3 separate regions of the Homo sapiens genome follow, and all the other regions are linked to region 1. The links are contacts of gene promoters, found by promoter capture Hi-C in blood cells and fetal thymus (Javierre and others, 2016). All regions are on one chromosome and are shown on one strand. Each heading gives the region's core, a stretch centred on a gene start or on the middle of the fragment in contact. The rest is flanking DNA. Distances are from core to core; before and after follow the strand shown. Region 1 holds the start of RNF32 (ring finger protein 32). Region 2 holds the start of RBM33 (RNA binding motif protein 33). Region 3 has its middle 11 kb from the start of SHH.

Region 1 (3,018 bases), core at 366-2,865:
TGGATTCACCAGAAATTGGGTAATGATATTTCTTAAATGTAGAGCTCATATGTACTTCAGTGTTTCATATTAGAAGTGCTTTGGTCTTTATTTAGAAGTTTGGCGATGTTTTTGTGACCAGGAATGTGCTGTGGGAACTTTCCTCTTATTTATATCAATTAACCTATGGTGAAACTGGTTTCCTTGTACACTGCATGGCTTAAAGCTCCAGTTTCTAAGAACCTATGGATGATGTTAAGTGAAGACTTACTGTGTTGAGGGCCTAACTCTAAAAATAGAAAGAAATTAATCCAAAATGTATTTCTAAGGACTAACACTTGTATTAAATTACTCCAACCGAAAGAACAAACTCACTAAGGCGTGAGTGGAGAGATAGAAAAGCACAGTGGAACCAAATCTCTGAGATATCCAGGGTTAGAAGTAAAAACGTCAGTCGCTGCTCAAGTCCTGGAGGCTTTGATGATGGTTCTTACTACAGCCCTTTTCTGTTCCCGTTCAATTCTGGCATCAAGAGATGTTTGAAATAAGTTCCACCCTGTATCTCATCAAGACAACTGAACTTGGAGAAATGGTGGAATTTAAAATACTGAAAGATCACTGCCAGAATTTTCTCAGTTCCTGCTTCCAAAATGCCTATAACCTGCAGAAGATACAGTTTGCATCACACTAAAAATGGTCCGGTCATAGCTGCAGTCTGCAATTTAATCTCAAGTTTCTACACAGTAGACCACTGTCATTAATATCAAGGTAAGAGCTTTTAAAACCTATACTCTCTTAAAGTCCTACGGTATCATTAAGTTTTAGAGTTTAAAATTCAGAATTTAAAGGTATTGAAAACCCTTCAAGTACCTACTCCAACTCCACTTTATAAATGAGAAAACCAAATACCAGGTGAGTCCTTCAATATATAATGAGCCTGCGGCACTGGTAGGGTTAGAAACGTAACCCTTGCCCAGTATTGAAAGCTAAGATTAACAGGAACCCGTTGCTTTGTAAATCCCAGTATTAAACGCTCAAGAGGCAGAGCTTGGTGGCAAAAACGATCACTGGGGTGCCAAAGCGAGTAACCTCAGCTAATTAAACACGCTCAATAAAAATACACGAGACCAAGCCTACGACGTAAAGATGCAATCCTACGTAGGGTCTTGGTGTTATCTCCTGCCTTCTGAACCCCGCTGACCGTTTTCTGAGGTTCCACTCATGCAGGAAGCGCGCGGTGACGAGGCTCCAATTCCTCTCAAAGCTGACACCACCCTGCACCTGGGGCCCCTGATGGCAGCCGGTCCTACCGGGTTCTAAAATTACCGACGTGGGATCACTGTTCTAAGGCTTTAGGCAGCCGTAAATTCGTACCCCTCAGATAGAAGGAGCTGTGGAAACTAACCAGGACCCCGAGTCCCCCAAGGAGGCTGCGCGCCGCTACGGGACCCGACCTCGCCTCACAGCTGCGGCCATCGCCGGCCCGGCTCGGAGGAGGCGAAAGCGAGGCCGCGGACGGCCCTCACCCCGAATCCATGGACCCCGCCCGCCTGGCGGGCCACCCTTCTTTCCGTCCCTCCCCCGAAGCCTCTCCGTGCCTCGACTCCTCCGCGAACACCGGAACCCAGGGACGTCTGCCCCTTTTCCCTCAGGCAACTCCCTGGCCGCCCACCGTTGCCGTAGCAACGCCCGCCTCCGCGCTCGCTCCCCGCGGGCTTGCTCACCAGCCCTGCCCCGCCCCGCCCCATACTGCGCATGCTCGCCAGCCCCGCCCGGCCCACATTGCGCATGCTTGCCAACCACGCCCTGTCCACACCACACTGCGCATGCTCGCCGGCCCCCGCCCCGCGCACGGCGTCAGCGTCTAGACGCAGGTGCGTTCCCGTCGAGGCTCGCGCAGCGGGCGTTTTTGGGGATCGCCTGGCGGGGGTGTTCGGGAGCCGCGGGCTGAAGCACGGGGGCGTGCAGGCGCCCAGGCCTCGTGTAGTGAGGGCCGAGCCCCGCGCCGGCTTCGCTGTAGTCCGCAGCCCCCGGCGGCTTTGTGGGCGCAGCCACGCTCCTCAGCCGCCCGCCCACCTGGGCCTGGGCCCCGGTTGTTTCCCTGCGGTGGCTGTGGTCGTTCCCGTTCCAGGGTCTCGAGCGCACCGCCCCTTCGCTGCGCTGTTAGTCGAGGGCAGTTTTCTGGGGGATCCCCCGATCCCCCCGCGCCGCTCAGGCGTCTTGGCTCGCGGAAGCGCAGGCGCCGACTGCCTGGCGTCGTCCGTGACTCCTGGCCCTTCTCTGTGGATCCCTTTGCTTCTCGTTGCGGGTTGTGTTTCCTGCTTCGTGGGCCTGGCCGTTTGCGTTTGGATGCAGGCCCGGGTGAGCCCTGCGTGGCCCGCTGGCCTTTTCCTGCTCCCTAGGTGACTGAGCCGCGTGTGTGACACATCGGAGTGAATTGAGGCAACGCGTTCCTTTCCAGGCTTGCAGCGGGCGGTGTCGTTCACGCTCCTGAGCAGAGCCTTCCGGTGCTTTACTCGACGCCACAAATAGTGCAGGGTTCCTCCCAGGGGCTGTCGCGAGCTAGAACTCTTCCCCGCCCCTGTGAGCTCGGGCTGTTCTTCCTCCTCCGCGTGGCTCACTCCAGCCTCGGATGTTTCCTCGCTGCACAGACCTGCTCGGGAAGACTCGAGAAGGCCACCCCAGGACTCCAGCTCTCCCCGGAAGGGCTTCCCCTCGGATTGCGTCTTGGCCCCTGGAACCCTCCCTCTGTATCCTCTGCTGTTCCTCTCTTGGCCTCCATTTGGGTTGTGGCCTGGATACTCTGGCTCGCTGCTTCCCTTCTCTTAAGGATCACAGCCCTGCACTGCCTGTCGTCCGGTGCCTGGAAACCATTGTATTTTTTGGTCTGATTTTGTAGTTGTTTGAGAACTTAAGTCTGGTCCCTCACACTCCATGCCCAGAAGCAGAAATGAGTAAAGTTTGTTTTATCTTTTCTTAATATGACAATTATTGTGTTGGTTCAACTTATGTTGTACTTTAATTAGAAGAAATTTGGCC
Region 2 (3,018 bases), core at 325-2,824, 1.0 Mb after region 1:
CAGCATAACGTCTTCACATGTTATTCAGCCTCTAGAAAACTCCACTGTACACTACTGAAAGAAAAGAGAAAAAATACAAATAACACCTTAGTCTTTCTAATGAAAAGAGTGTTCACCCAAGAGTTCCCAGGTTACACTGGGAATGCTATAAAACAAGTAATTCTGACCCCCAGAAAGATAGGTGAACTATACATTTTAAAATTTTAATTAGTCTCAGATGTAACACGCAAACATCATGTATTTAAACTGAAAGAAAAGTGGCATATAGCAAACCAAATTGCCAGAAGCGACATTCCTACACTTAGTCTTTTTTGTTTTTCCATTTTGTCAGGCAAACGTTTTGACAGTTGGGCCAAAATTCCTAAACAGGATGATAACAACGTAACCATCTGCTAGCATTTACTAAAAAATACTTCTCGAGTATACACTAGACTGGCTTTTCAACGTTTCAATGGTAAGAACTAATCCCAAATGCTTTTGTTATCCATATTTTACCATCTTTTCAAAGTTTTCAAAATAATCACTTAAAAAGTCACTTTCAAGTATCTCTCCACGTTTTTAAAACCCCCAGTGATATGTAATTTTACCTGAAAGTAATTTACCTACAATTTTTTAGAGATAGGTGTTTCATCAATACTGTTTATGCTTGCAAACAAGAAAAACTATCCAAAGGAACTGACTCAGTATCTAAACCTTTTGTGTCACGTTTTCACTTTTGGAAGACGCACATAAAACACTAACAGGTTATTAGACAACAAATAAGTTAATTTAAAACAGGGATTTATTGAGACTTTCTCAAGAAATCTCACTTTCCAAACTGGCCTACTGTCGCACATTCCTTCACACAGGTGAATCTTTTCGTTATGTTTTTGTAATGGGCTTCAAATCAATCTAAATCTGTCAGGATGGCCCCACAATCTTAAACACCCACCCTACAGCGACCTGCCCCGCTCTCCCTAAGTGACACTGTCTCGGGGGGTGGGGGGGGCGCTCTCCTACCCATAGGACACCAGGCCGGCTTCGGCACTTAATGCCCGCCAACGCCAGAGATGGGCCTGACACTTAGGCAGCCTTGCAAAGTAGAGGACACACAGAAGTTCACAGGTAAGTACGATCTGCACAGCGGAGAGGAGGAGCGAGAAAGGGAGAATGACAATAGCGAGGGAAGGCGAGGGAGAAAACGGAATAGGCCGAACACAAAGAGAGTCGGAGCCGGGGAGAGCCTCGTCCTCTCCTAAGCGGGGAGGCCCCCCGGCCTACACCCCCGCCCACCGCGGCGCGGTCCTGGCCCCCAGAGTCCGGCTGCCTCACGTACCTCCGGCGCCTGCTCCTCCGCTCGCTCCCAGGGCGGCCGCCATGGCACTCGCGGGGCCCGGCCTTCAGCCTCCCCCACCAAGCCAGCTGGTGGGCCGACGTGCCTGGTCCGGGCCCGGGTACGGGTGACGGAGGACAGAGAAGGGAGGGGGCTGCAGGAGGCAGAGGCGAAGCCGGGCGCTTCGCGGTCCACAGCTGGCCCTTCGCCTCCGCAGGAAGAAAACAACAAACTACCGCAACATGGCCGCGCGCCCGCGCCCGCCGCGGTGCACCCTGGGATGATGGAGGCCGGGAGGCGGGCGGGCGCCGGGGCCTGCCCCCGCCGAGGCCGCAGCAGCCCTGAGGCCGCCGCCGTGTTTCGGGCGGTGGGCGTGCAACGCAAACACGCGGCAGTCACCTCCGCCCGGCTCCTGAAACCCAAATGTTTGAAGCAGGGCGGGGACGACTGCTGGCCATAGGTCGATTCCGGGTTCAGTCGTAAGGCGCTTTGCAGCAGTCGGCAAAGCGAAGCTTTACGGCAGCCCGTCTCCCGTTAGGAGCCGGGGAGGCAAGGTCCAGCGTACGGTCCGGGGGAACCTTAACTGTCGTTTCTGTGCCTGGACAGTAGGTTGGAGAGTGGGGTCTGAATGAGCTACAGTAGTGAACGCCGACGGCTTGTGTTGAGGGCAGGAAAGGGTGCACACAGCTCCGGCAGGTGCTTCCGCGAGGTGAGATGAGTGCCGCGCGCGCCGGGCTAACGTGCACGCGCACTCGTGCGGCGCCCGCGAGCCCTCACTTCCTACAACCCGAGACCCTCCGGACCCGCGACCCCGGACCCCCGTCCCCTTCTCCGCGCCCGGCTGGGCAGCGGGCAGCGCCGGACCCTGATGGGCTCTCGGCCCTTACTGCCCCTGCGCCTTGCGGCCCTGAGAACAAGACGTGAGCAGGACGGATAGCGCCCGGCACTCATGTCTGAGTTTGCATTTTGAGCAGTGAGAAAGGTTAAGAAACGAAATCCTCATACTTGACATAAAGGAAAGGGTGCTGGGTGGTCAGACAGCTGTGGACGAAAGGGCTCAGGGGTTTTGGGGTGTGGGGCCCGGGAAGGCGCATCTGAGTGGTCGCAGTCGGGGAAGGGGGTTGATTAAGTACACACCGGCTGTAAACATTGATTCCATATCGGTCAATGTGGGGCTTAGGTGAGGCGTTCTGACCCAGCAATGAAACTGGAAAGGTAGGCAGGGGCCAGGATTCCGGACTTTGGGACGTTTTTCTGAGTCTATGGGGTCTATTGAAAGATTTTAGAAACAATTTACATGGTAAGATTTGTATTTTAGAAAGGTGACTGATACAACAACGTAGAGGACCCTGCAATGTGGAGAGGCATGAAACTGGAGGTCCAGTGCCGTGAGTTAACAATCAAGACGTCCATACAGGAGATGCATTGGTGGATGGGTGAAGAGATGATAAAACGGTACGTATAATAAAATGCTGGCCGGGCGCGGTGGCTCACGCCTGTAATCCCACCACTTTGGGAGGCTGAGGTGGGTGGATCACGAGGTCAGGAGTTTGAGACCAGCCTGACCAACATGGTGAAACCCCGTCTCTACTAAAAATACAAAAATTAGTTGGGCGTGGTGGCACGCGCCTGTAATCCCAGCTACTCAGGAGGCTGAGGCAGGAGAATTGCTTGAATCGAGGAGGCGGAGGTTGCAGTGAGCCGAG
Region 3 (3,018 bases), core at 286-2,785, 820 kb after region 1:
CACCTTGCGGCGTGAGGAAGTCGTGTTTAAAAGCACACGCTTCTGCCATGCCTCTGAGCTTTACAGGGGATTATAAAAATGCAGACCTCATTTAAGCCCACAGTAAATTAATGGGAAATGATATGTGACTAAATATTTGAAAGCTGTTGCCGTGCCTTATTTGATTTGCCTAATTACGTGTTTTACTGCCTCCTTTATGGAACTGTTGCCTAAGGTATCTGAAGTCTTTATACTTACTTCTTCCTTAATAGCTGAATCAAAATGCCACGTGATCACGTTGGCATGCAGCCTTGAAATTGCGTCCAAGCCCATTGACGTGTGTTTCCGGGAGGGAGATGACTCTCCTAGCCCTTGGTGGTAGAATGTTGGGAACCGTAGATCGGCCTTCTTAACCAATCTGATACAAAGGCTCTCCCAGCCACTCCGTCACCTCCTAACCCCATGGCTTCTCCACCAAGCAAAACAAAACAAAATAAAACAAAACTAGGGTATAAATATGTCAGGATAAGAAAGAAAACATGTACACAACATTCAAACACCGTCTGCCACTGGAAGAGACTCCAGGACAATTGTGCACATACTTGGCCTGCTACCATGGCCCGGCGAATTCAGCGGTTACCATGGCGGGGTAGAGCCTGGAGGAGGACTCCAGAGGGCAGGCTTTGTGTGGGCACTGCTCAAACAGAGAGCTGCGATTCAGTCTGTTGGCTTGTGTACTTTGGTGTGAGCCATCCTCACGCTGAAAAGGCCAAGAGGAGAAGTGTTGAGTTTGACTTGATCTCATGCCTTTAGGTTTCTCTTGACATCCCGCCCGCTGCCCCCCACCCCAGCCCGACCTCCTTCAGGCCCCTCTAACTCCCCATCTGGGGAAACAAATGACATTGAGCACTGTCCAGGGAAGATGACACTTAGGGGTCTCCCCTCTCTGTGGATAAACTGCTCTAAAAACAGCCCAGACCCCACCAACAACAAGTCCGTGCAGAAACCACAGGAACCGTCTTCACTAGGACAAAGAAACATGTTGAGAGGGCACTTCGAGGCCCGGGCCCTGAGACACCACTGGCAGCTCGAGCATTAGGCTTAGGAGAGTTGAGTTCTAGGTAACCCCACAGCAGCACACTCAGCTCCTGAGTTGAAAGACAGAGAAATGGAAAGAACAGTGGAGCACGGGCGAGAGACATGGCTCAGTGACTGTAGGCAAAGTCATTTAGTCTCTCTTCAGACCTAAATTTCCTCATCTGTCAAATTGAGTTAATAATACGTGGTCTGTCTCTCCCCCACAGCATCATGGCGAGGACTAGGCGCCCCCTGAAAACACATCATTATTAGTGGCGCCTCACCCTCAGGCTGCCTTGCACTGCTGCAGAGAATCCTCACGTGTAAAGAGCCAGAAAGCCGTGGAGAGTTTCCACCCTAAATAAAAGAATTCATGAGGTTATTTTTAAGAGTGTAGACGCTCCGTGAGTGACATGCACACACTAATGGGACAGGTCCCATCAGGATTCCCACGTGACGCCTTCACGGTCGCTCATCCCATTCGCTGCTCGGGAGGGGCAGGGGGAATACAGCCCCAGCAGAAAGAAACATTATTTAAATTAACTCAGTCCGATTGAATGTCCTCTTTTGTCAAACGAAAGAAGTGATCTCTGCTATGTGGCCTGATCTGTTTGAAAACAGTTGAATATTTTACGTTGAATTGCCTTTGGCCTTAAGTGTATTTGTGCCAACTTAAGTGGCACAAAAGTCCCAGAAAGAGAATTTGTAAGCAATGTCAGTTGGTCTAGGTGTGAAGCCACTTGCAGAGCACACCCTCGGCTCCAGGCTCTAGCTGTGCATCACACACTCACTGCCAAACCTCAGGGGATCCTATGACACCCACGAAGTAAACATTTGTCCCCATTTTGCTGATAGGGAACTATGTTCAGAGAGGTGAAGAGATTTGTCCAAAGTCATGCAGATAGTGGACTTCAACGAGGGTTCCGAGACAGTTCAAACCCACTGGCTCCAGAGAAATGACACTGATTCCAGCCCCAGTGCACGGTCACGTCCTGAAGCCCTGTGGTTCCTCCAAGCAGTGCTGTGGGCCCTTTGGCCAAAGGTGCAACACCTTGAAATAGGAGGAAAACAACGACCTTCCCTCCAGGCCCTCTCTGATCAACGCTATCATCAGAACAACAGAAAACCAAGTTTGCAGCTTCTGCTTGGGAAGAAAAGAAGCTACGTGGATTCCGAATTTGATATTTCAGCTGCCATAGTTTTTTGTTGTTATTTGTTGTTGTTGTTGTTTGCTTGTTTTGGTGTGTTGGTTTACTTTTTAAATAGCAACCACTGAAACTCATTCCATAACATGCCACTAGTTTAACTGGCTAATTAGTAAGAAACTTCTGGTAACTGACAAATATTTGTTGAGCATCTTCTGAGCTGGGAGCTGTGTGACCTACAGAGATGTGTAAGACAGATACTCTGAAGGCTTTCTTCTGGAAATTAGCAAATATATTGAGGATACTAATAACTACCCTGAAGTCAAAGGTCAAACAACAACCCCCAAAGTGAAATATGAATATAAGCAATGATCCAGAGGTCACATCAGCCAAACAGCTATGACATGATAAGCCAGAAGCCCCAGGGCCACAGGTCGAGAAGGTGGGAAAGGCACAGAGGAGGGGGAGAGGCTGCCACTGGACCAGGGGGCAGAAGCGAGACAGAGTCACAAGGCATGGTCTGGACTGAGTCATTGGTTCAGAGACATGGGGATCTGCAGGCTTGAAATGGGAGATCCGAGTTCAAGGGACAGAAATGCAGGGAGAGGAACACATCTGAGCTCTCCCCTCTCTGGATTCATGAAGAGTTTATGAATAAAGATCCCGGAACCATGGGCTGCAGTTACACCTCTGCTCCCCGCCCTCCAACAGGGTGTCCCGTGGGAGACCACGTAACCCTCTGAGCCTCCATCTTCCGGTCTGTGAATATAGGGGTGCCCCCACCACCTCGATGACCACACAGGGATGCTGCGGGTCC

What was found. The method cuts DNA at HindIII sites, captures the fragments that hold promoters and counts their contacts. A CHiCAGO score of 5 or more calls a contact.
Region 2: the fragment with the promoter of RBM33 here is called in contact with the fragment with the promoter of RNF32 in region 1 in 10 of 17 cell types (total B cells, total CD4 T cells, fetal thymus and 7 more); the score reaches 9.9 in total B cells.
Region 3: a contact is called between a fragment that was not itself captured here and the fragment with the promoter of RNF32 in region 1, in 2 of 17 cell types (M1 macrophages and endothelial precursors). The highest score is 5.5, in M1 macrophages.

Annotation. Positions count from the first base shown.
Region 1 is chr7:156,639,371-156,642,388 of GRCh38, reverse strand. It overlaps RNF32 (ring finger protein 32), which reads right to left and starts at 1,615. Exons shown (of 9, transcript NM_030936.4): 1 at 1,578-1,615. RNF32-DT (RNF32 divergent transcript) reads left to right here and starts at 1,854. Exons shown (of 4, transcript NR_026865.2): 1 at 1,854-3,018. RefSeq lists a silencer at 1,715-2,024 and an enhancer at 1,593-2,184. The HindIII fragment of the contact is 15,348 bases long and covers 1-3,018 here.
Region 2 is chr7:155,643,217-155,646,234 of GRCh38, reverse strand. RBM33 (RNA binding motif protein 33) reads right to left here and starts at 1,574. Exons shown (of 18, transcript NM_053043.3): 1 at 1,316-1,574. The coding sequence starts at 1,358. RBM33-DT (RBM33 divergent transcript) reads left to right here and starts at 1,829. Exons shown (of 3, transcript NR_126344.1): 1 at 1,829-2,021; 2 at 2,631-2,767. RefSeq lists a silencer at 1,247-1,756 and an enhancer at 1,681-2,635. The HindIII fragment of the contact is 4,649 bases long and covers 1-1,826 here.
Region 3 is chr7:155,822,003-155,825,020 of GRCh38, reverse strand. No RefSeq gene overlaps it. Among named protein-coding and RNA genes, the nearest start is that of SHH, 11 kb to the right of the region's middle. The HindIII fragment of the contact is 7,243 bases long and covers 1-3,018 here.